Regions from separate parts of the Homo sapiens genome. Here region 2 is linked to region 1. The links are contacts of gene promoters, found by promoter capture Hi-C in blood cells and fetal thymus (Javierre and others, 2016). All regions are on one chromosome and are shown on one strand. The core of a region is centred on a gene start or on the middle of the fragment in contact, and the rest is flanking DNA. Distances in the headings are between cores, read along the strand shown. Region 1 holds the start of OTOL1 (otolin 1). Region 2 has its middle 18 kb from the start of SLITRK3.

What was found. Contacts are between HindIII fragments. The CHiCAGO score rates a contact against its expected background, and 5 or more counts as called.
Region 2: a fragment that was not itself captured here is called in contact with the fragment with the promoter of OTOL1 in region 1 in 1 of 17 cell types (endothelial precursors); the score reaches 9.7 in endothelial precursors.

The regions. Positions count from the first base shown.
Region 1 is chr3:161,495,055-161,499,822 of GRCh38, forward strand. OTOL1 (otolin 1) reads left to right here and starts at 1,754. Exons shown (of 4, transcript NM_001080440.1): 1 at 1,754-2,117; 2 at 4,117-4,206. The coding sequence starts at 1,754. The HindIII fragment of the contact is 10,143 bases long and covers 1-2,653 here.
Region 2 is chr3:165,175,475-165,180,834 of GRCh38, forward strand. No RefSeq gene overlaps it. Among named protein-coding and RNA genes, the nearest start is that of SLITRK3, 18 kb to the right of the region's middle. The HindIII fragment of the contact is 1,401 bases long and covers 1,709-3,109 here.

The DNA.
Region 1 (4,768 bases), core at 504-3,003:
TGGTTATCGTAGCCTTACAGTATAGTTTGAAATCAGGTAATGTGATGCCTTTGGCTTTGTTCTTTTTGCTTAGGATTGCTTTGGCTATTAGGGCTCTTTTTCTGGACCCACATGAATTTTAGAGTAGTTTTTTCTAGTCATATGAAAAGTGACATTGATAGATTGAAAGGAATAGTGTTGCATCTATCAATTGCTTTGGGCAGTATGACCACTTTAACAATATTGATTCTTCTAATCCATGAGCATGGAATGTTTTTTCATTTATTTGTGTCATGTCTGACTTCTTTCAGCAGTGTTTTGTAGTTCTTCTTGTAGTTCTCCAGATCTCTTACTTCCTTCCTTAGATGTACTCTTAGGTATTTTTTTTCGTGGCCATTGTAAATGGAATTACAATCTTGATTTGACTCCCAGCTTGAATGTTATTGGTGTACAGAAATTCTACTCGTTTTTGTACATTGACCTTCTTTCCTGAAACTTTGCTGAAATTATTTATCAGTCCCAGGAGAATTTTGGCAGTCTTTAGGGTTTTCTAGGTATAGAATAATATTTTCTGCAAAGAGAGAGAGTTTGACTTCTTCTTTTCCTATTTGAATGCCATTTATTTCTTTCTCTTGTCTGATTGCTCTGGCTAGCACTTTCAGTACTATGTTGAATAGGAGTGGTGAGAGAGAGCATCATCGTCATGTTCCAGTTCTCAAGGGGGAATGGAGAGCTGTTGTGAGACCTGATTGGATTGATTAATGTACGGCATCTACTCAGAGTAGGGACTGTATAAACAGTAGACCTTTTTAATCTCTTTATTTCCATTCTATTTACTCTCTTACTATTTATCTTAATTATGGCTGCCTTCTCCTATCAGGAAATGTGGATTTATAACCCTGGCTATCTGTTAGCACCCCTTAGACTACTGGGAGTTGATTTGGAATGGAATACTCTGAACTATCAAAATTTCACCTCATTAGAAACCTTACATCATATCACTTTGGACATTGCCAAAGCTCTTTTTAGAATAACCACATTTTGCCCCATTAAAATAATACAAGAATAAACATGAATTTCTAGAAAAACTCCCCAAATTACAAAGCAAAGAGGTGGAGAGTTAAATGCCATGTGAAGAATCTAAGAATGTAGCATATATTCAAATTTATTATTTTTAATTGTCTCTCTCTTCACTTATTAAAATAGATTTTAAAAAATTGCTCTCACAACAGGACCATTATCCTTAGTAGATTTAAGGACTATTTCACCATATTTTTTCTTGAAATAATTGAGTTTGCTGGAATAAACTACTCAGTTCAATATTTTTCATCTCCCTCTAATACAAATGTATTTGATTTCTATAAATCTGAGTGAAATCAGTGAGGAAATTATACACATTTATCTTCCACAGGGTATATGAGCTATTGAGTCATGTTGTATTTATTGTAGATCATGTTTGCTATTTGGCCAGATAGTTTGAATAGTTGGGAACAATATATAATACTAAGAAAATAACCAGAAAGATGAATGGAAGTAAAGTGTTCTTTATAATAAATAAGTACATAAAATATTCTGTAGTGATTCAAGTACACATTTACATGTAAAATATATTGAAAATATATCATTCTATATTATGCATATCATTCATTCTTATGATTCATATACATATATATTTCTTTTATATGAGTATATGTTTATATGACTTAGTCTTTTCATTTGGACCTCACATAATATGTATATATTTTCCTATTATATCTTTCTTCCAGCTTCAAATATGTGGATGTTTTCTTGGCTTTGTGCTATTTTAATTATTTTGGCTATTGCTGGTATGAACACAATAGCAAAGACCACACCACATACCAAATTTACGAAGAAATCTGAGGAAAGAGAGATGCCAAAGGGTCTAAAGCCATCCAGTGGCCCACCTCCAGAAGAAGAAGAAACCCTCTTCACAGAAATGGCTGAAATGGCAGAACCAATTACCAAACCCTCGGCCTTGGATTCTGTCTTTGGCACTGCCACTCTCTCTCCCTTTGAAAACTTCACTCTTGACCCAGCTGATTTCTTTTTGAATTGTTGTGATTGTTGTTCACCTGTACCCGGGCAGAAAGGAGAACCTGGAGAGACTGGACAGCCAGGTATTAGAAAATATAAGAAGTCATGTTTCTCACTTGTACATTGGTAGAGTTGAGAGGTAGGTTGTCGGGTGAAATTGCCCCAGGAGTTTCTACGTTGTTATGCAAATAGTAACAGGTCTAGGTGTCACATTGTTACAAATGTAAATGGGTGCTGTGTTGCCCAATGTGGTAATTAATAAATATTAAAATTAAAATTGAATAAGGTAAAAAATTCAGTTCATCAGTCACATTAGCCACAGTTCAAGTGCTCAACAGCCACTGTATTGGGCAGCACAGATAGCATTTCCATCATTGTAGACAATTCTACTGGACAGTGCTGGTGAGAGCAAAGTCAGGAATTACCAACTCCAGCATGGTGCTCTGGTTCTTCAAGATGCACAGGTTTATTACCAGTACAATTTTTTAAATTAGTGGCTGATTTAAAAAGGGTAAATGAAACTTCTGTTGCCTTGCAAGAATGTGTGCTGACTGATGGATTTTCTGAGTGCTATTTGTAGTTAGGATTAGAAATGGAATGGCTCTGAGGTGGAGAATAAAGCTTAGGATTCCATTTGCTTCTCATTGAATTTCTGAGGCAATACTGTGTCATTGCCCAATGATTTTCTCCATTGAACACCATGGTTATGTATTTCAAGATTTCAGATGTCTATAATATATACATAATGAATATAGTCTTGGCTTTATTCTAATACATTTCAGCTTTTACATGTCATCTAGAAGAGAATTCAAGGTAAAGTTAAGATCAGAATGTCAACTTAAAATTCACCATTGCCTGAGGAATTTAATGTTATAAACTAAGCAATTATACATCTTCACCAAGCTTTTCATTCATTTCATCCCTTTGTAGGGACCTTTTGGGAAATGCGGTTAGTATTTATGCAGAGCTGCATTAAGGAGTAAAGGAGATGGGCCGTAGCTTGGGTACCAAGATGTCAGGATTGCTAAAACATTACTGAAAATTTAATGAGACTGAGAAAATTATATTTACCAGAAGTCTTAGTATCCTATCTGGCTGGTAAGCTGCTTGGCGGTGAAAATCCCAAGGGCATGGTCAAGTAGACACAGCTGGTTGCTAAACTATTTGCTAAGGCTGTGAGTTCTGTAACATCAGGGCTTTTGTTTTACCCAGTGGTGGATTTAGCTGTGCTGTTCTCAGGGTTCATTCTCTCCTCTAAATATATATGACAAATAATTCCAAGGTGTGCCAAGTTATTACCCTGCCTGGGGAGCTCATATGTCTTAGTCTGACTGGTTCTGCCACAGAGCATAGTGCTTGAGAGCTTAGAATGCTGAGACTATCTTGGTCCTACTTAGGGAAGCTACTCTGCTTTGGGAAATCTTAATCTATTCTTTGGGTCTTAGCTTAATACCATTTTCTCAAGGAAGCCTCTGATCTCATCAGTTAAGTCCTCAATAAGACCTTCGTATTTTTCTTTATATCATTTACTACAATGTGACAATTTCTACGTATTTGTGTGGCTATTTGTTAAATGTTTATCTTTCATAGACTCTCAGCTTCATGAGAGTAGGGACTGCTGGAATGTTGATGGCTGCATTCCTAACACCTTGCAGGGTGCTTGGTGTATAGGATGCCTCAGAAATAGTTAATGAATGAATGAGTAAGTGAATAAAAGGGAAATCCAAAGGTGCTAGGTGTTGTTTTTACTTCCAATGTGAAAGTGTGGTCCATATGAGGTTAAGTGTCAGATTATCATTTTGTTCTTGTTTGATATAGTGCTGCTTCCCTGAATCATTTGATCACTGCCATGAATACAGTGACAAGTACTAATGGTCTCAATTTATCTATTCAGGTAGTACGAAATTGCAAATCAGACAAAAATATTGCCCTTAGGACTCTGTGTGGTTTATTCTTACTCAGATTTTACCATTAGGTCATTGATACTTATTGATTGCAGTAAAATGCTTTTTTTCTTTCCTGAACTAATGAACTTTAAAAGAGAAATTTTATATTCTGATGTATTTAAAATCCCATTTCTAGGTCCTAAAGGAGAGGCTGGAAATTTGGGGATCCCAGGGCCACCAGGAGTTGTTGGGCCCCAAGGCCCTAGAGGCTACAAAGGAGAGAAAGGTAGGTAATTCATTCATGTCAAAACTCAAGGGACATTCTGCATCATTTTTCAGGAGAGCAATTTGCTACTTAAAGACTAGATTCTTGCAGATGAGTCAATTTTAAAAATGTAAATACTTGATAAAGCACATTATATTTGATATAAATATGTTAACTTTATAAACAGCCAATTGAGAAATTTTAAACTTACCTGGGAACACTGCACACATGCATGCAGGCACACAGATTGTCACACAGCTTTTCCATCTCTCATTGGTCACCTAGCTGACCTAGTGACAAGCAGCCACAGAGTATAGTCTCTGGGGAAGGGTATAGAGATACCCTTCCTGTACATGCTCATGTTAGCCTACTTCCTTTGGATGCAAATAATTTTGTATTAGATGGAACTAACTAGAGCAGGCAATTCTCTGAATATTCAGTTTAGGTGGATAGTATGCCTGCTAAGAAGAATTTAATATATCCCTTGGCTCACTCTGAAATCAGAGGCAGTGTCAGTGGTGGGAAGACAACTTAATTAAAACAGAAGTAATCAAGCTTATAATAATGACATTGGGCAAGTCAT
Region 2 (5,360 bases), core at 1,159-3,658, 3.7 Mb after region 1:
TTTGGTATTATTAGTATTTAGAAGTGTCTTCAAATTTTAGATCACATTTTAAAATATTCTAAGATAACAATTCTTAAAGAGTTGTTTTATTACATTCATGATTACATGAAGAAAACAACCTAATTTAGTTATTAAATTAGGTTGTCTAAGCATGTTTTATAATGTCAAAATTATTGTATCTGTGCCTATTTTTAACATCAAAATTCTGGATAAAATTTAAAATATCAGTCACTCAATATGCAAAAATTCTTCTCTCTAATTTCATATATCAAACACCCATTGACTTACTTTAGTTTCACTTTTTTTTTTTCATTCAAATATCTCCACAAGTAGAGCTGGGGGATATTCAGGAGGCCTACCCACAGTGTATATCATCATTTTAAATCAGATTGAAATAATTTGAAAGTGAAAAAGTAATTTTAAAACAGTCAAGAAAGCACATAATGTGTGTGTATGTTGAAGCAGTGTGTGTGTCGGTTGGGGATAAAAGCATTGGGAGGAGAGAAAAGAGGCCGATTATTACTGAACATGTTATACATATCAAGACTGTTGAACCACATCTTTCCCATAAAAGTTCCTTATGACCCATTCTGTCAAACAGGAAATGTCACACTCATACACTTTACTCTCACTAGCTAAGATATGGGCCTGGGGAAATCAATTATTTGCTAAACTTACTTTATTTGCTAGGCTATATACTCTGTTGCCATATTTATATGTAATTAGGTATTTTCCATTATCTATGTACTCTCAGGAAATATTTATCAATATCAACCTAAATTAATATGCCAGGAGAGTAATAACAGTCCTTCCATGCCTTCAGCTGCAATTCATTTTTAAAGGTTTGAGATATTGCAGGGTCTGAAATTTTCTTAAGGTATGAGTTAAGGTCTTTCTGTGAGGTTATTGAAATAGTCAGGATAGCCTTCACTATGATGTCTTACAGAGTTTGAGACTCAAAAGGGTAAACTGAAGAATTGTCATTAGTAGAGGTCCCATTTTCTTAATATAGGTCTTCATTCTCCCCTTTCTTATGAAGTGGTAACTGGATTATGAAGACATCCCTCTGCAGTTTAGCCTTATTCCACACATTCTAGAATGTGGTAGATAGCTGGAACTATTGAAAAACCAAACTGAATTATCATAGCTCTACTCATTATGGTATCCTATGTCTTGTTTTCATATGGAAAATTGGGTATTTAGCAGTGAGACCTATTATCTGTGGTTATCTGTGAGATTCCTTTTTATACTTAGCTTTTTATTAAACCATAGTAGTGTTATTGGGAAAACATGGACAAAAGGATGAGATTACAGGCTACAGTAGTATTTTTTCTATCTAGTTGTCACTTCACTTGATAATAGCAAGAGGCAGAGGAAATCTAAATCCCTACAGTAAGCACTTTAAAGAGAATCATAGTTATTGAATTTTTCTTTATCTAGTCTTCATTTGTTTTTGGCAAGTTGGTCTTTTAAGATAGGAGCATAATTCATGGAAAATATTGACTCAGAGTGGAATATGCATATCATAGGAGATCATCAACTTCTTCAAACAATCTGATCATATTATAATCAGAATTATAAACAATCAAACAAAAAAGAACATTTTAATATGCAATGTAAATGACTTTTTATGTTTCTTAGGTAATAGTAATTTATAATGCTCTAATAAAACTTAAGTCTGACTGTCAACATGTTTAAGACATGGAGAAGCTTTTCCTGGAAGTTATTAATTATCACCAGGTATTCTCTCAGCCCAACACAGTTAATTATTCAGAAAAATTCAAGTTAAAAGGTTTACTGACTTTTACAGGGGGTTAAGATATGAAACTTAATTTATGTCTCATGTTCATATCTTTTGTATGTTGTATATTAACCTTTTAATATTTTGTCATAGCATTTTTATTAATGAAAATAGTAATAAAATTTTGTAGCATATGTGTACACATAACTATGCATATTCATATTTTTTACTTTACAATTCCAATATATTACATCTTCCTAAGTGATCGTATTTTAGGTGTCAATTTTATACAAACCTATTTTATGTCTGAAGAATTTATTAGCCCTACATCCCTGATTCTATTGACAAGGAAGATATTCCTATGTTACATTCTAAGACATACTGGGCTACATGCCATTAATTTCTGTGACAATAGTTTGAAATTCTGCAATCCCTTTAACACAGTACTTCTGCAAAATAACCTCTAAAATAATTAAATTAGACTCTAAATGCATTAAAAATGTAAATATGAAGTTTAGAATTATTTTTTCCCTAATAAGATTAGAATTCAAACACAAGCATATTTCAAGGACAATGTAAAATGACAATGAAAATATACAATTTCAACACAAAGTCAAACATTCAAGACAACTAAGGTGTAGGAATAAAGTGCCAAACTTCCAGACCCAAAAAGCACTCTGAATTTTTATATGGATATTCATATCTTTAATAAAAATATTTACCTTCCGTTTATTGTATAAAGTATGTCTTTGTTCTTACAACTGCCTTAAATATTTCTCTTTGGGTTAAATTTACCATCAATTAAACTCTGGTTGATTACTATACATTTTCAGTAAGCTAGAAGAGAACGTGATCATAGCATTTCAAGAATCAAAGTTTAATAAGAATACAGATGCATATTCTTCTCTTTGTAAGGCCTCACATTACCTAAGTGAAAATGCAGTTTGACATGCATTAAAATTTGGATCCTACAAGGCAGAAATATATTTCATATATTAATTTGTATGAGTATCTGCAATCCTTTGTTGATAATCTAATTACTCCTCACCTTTGTCCACAACAGAGTTAGAACTGAAAGGGATATAACTACACAAATCCTGACACTCCAAGTGTTAATTATTATACATTTGTCTTGTATAGAACAGACAAAAATGTATTTAAACAGCTCTTCTTTTTAAAGGAAGGCAATATGTATAATACTTTTATATATGCCCTGTTTTATTTTAATAATCTTGGCTGGATTAACATTCTAGTAAAATTTGCAGTGAAGTGGTAGAACCTGCTGTTAAGCAATGATAACAAAGAATACATCAATAGAGCCCACTAAATTATTGCTCTTATTTATAAACATTTAAGCAACTGAGCAAAAGCTTTCTAACACCGCACCTGAATAGTATTGGCTATGCTCCTTTCTCTGCTTTGTCTACTGCTGAGGAGCTATGAATACATCTTGTAACTCTTCCCCTCCCTCCCTCGCTTCCTTCCTTCCTACTTTCTTCCCCCTAGTTTCTCCTTGGAGACATGCTCATATTACTCATTTTCCTCTGCCTTCTTTGTTTAGTCAGCTTGTATCTTGCTTATTTAGACACCATGTATATTGCCAATAATCAAATTTAAGAAAAGTAAAAGAAGTCATTTCTCATACTGTCACATTTCTTACCACCTCTCTTACACTCCAAACTCCATTTCTTTTCATCATTTCTCTGGGTTACATACACAGGACTTTCAACTTTTGCAAGAATCCATAGGCCACACATATTTAAAACTCTGTCCATTCATTTATTCAACAAATATTTATTTAGTGTTTATTGTTGCCCAGGCTCTGTGTTGAAAATAATGGGAAGAAAGGTAGTAATGTGGCTATTTTAGTAACAGGAAAAGATTCACGAAACTCAGAAGTTTGATCGGAATGTATTGCCCTTACCTGTGCAAAATATGGTCCTAGACACTGGGCTACGAAAGACTGAAGACAATCTGTGCTCTCAAGTGCTTACAACATAATTGAAAAGCCAGAATTCTTGGCACCAATAGGCAAAATGACTGAAGGACACTTAGGGTAAAATATTCCAACATACTCAAATCAGCATAAAGTAAATAGTGTGCAGGAGTATTTGAGAGAATAGTCAAAATTTAGTTTACTGTATCAATAGAGGCCTACTGCATGAAGGGAATTTGAAACTGAATTTTGATACCCATGAAAGATATGTATTTTCAGGAGATAAAAGAATAACCACAGTAATTTGTACAAACATGGGAATAAACAAACTGCATATTCTGAAAGATAAAGTATTTGCTTGGTAAGATATTTGCTGAGAATAATAGTTCTCAAAATGGTGGCTGATGAGCAAGCATATGAGAATTACCTCAGAAGTCTTTCCCCAGCTGATTACACATTATCTTCTCTCTCTCTTCATTTTCTGTTTGCTACATTTCTTTCCATTTTTCTGTGATGTCCCTTGCAGTGGATATAAGGACGGATCTGTGCATGTTGCAGTTAGGAAAGGCAGATTGCAATTTGAAGAAAAGTTCCACAGAACCAATATCTCCATGCTACCTGCTTTGAGTTAGGACACAATGCTTTATGGAAATGCTCACATATATTTTTGAAATGGGATAGGAGTAGTGAAAGGTGTATCTCACAACTGGGTAGCCATGTTGAAATTAACATGAGAAGTGAGTAAGTGTCAAACCCAAGCCTGATTCATTTAACAAATAAAATATTACCAACTACAGTTTTATATACTGTTCAACATTCCACACCACATCTTACCCTATTTTGAAGCTTAAATTTAAGCCTTTATTAAAAACTACATCTGTGCAATAATGCAGTATGTAAACTGTCATTTGTTTCATAAAAATGTTAGTAGATGGTGTCCACATATATATGCATTGTGTGTGTGTGTGTATATATGTATATATCTATATCTATATATATATACACATCCAGAATTCATTTGAGCAATGTTCACTTACGTTATCCACATTTATAAAGAGAGAAGCGTATAAGATCCAAATTAAAATGCAATGTCATTATCATTTATACTGTTAAAATTCAAACCATAAAAATAAAAGGGGGGAGCAATATTACAGGTAACAAAAATACTTTAAACTATGTATATTTGGCTCTGCAATAGTCATTGCTCTGAAACGTTACATAATAAATTATAATAACTTTAATAGATAATTAAGTTTTCTTAAAAATAATAATAATTGGTTGTGTTTCTTAAATACATTCTAGTAATGGGCTAAGGACAGTTATGTTACAATGGCCCAAAAATTAACTAGCAGGCAATGAGGAGTTCTTGTTTGTACACAAGAAACTATTACTATTTAAAAGAGGAAAAAAGACCTCCTCATTTATTTTACACATCTGTACCATGAACTAATCTAAATGTTTTAATATCATTACTTCAGTTCATCCTAGTGATTTTTTGTGTTAATATTTACTTTTAATTATAATTTGTTCAGTTATCATCAAGGTTTGATTTTCAGTGAATTTGTTAACAGATGCTAATTGAAGTGGCTTAGTAAACCAACTGCAAGATTTAAACTCTTCCAAAGATAGGACACTTAAAGGTGAATACAAAAACCTAGTTCAAACTTTCTCCATTAAGCCTTT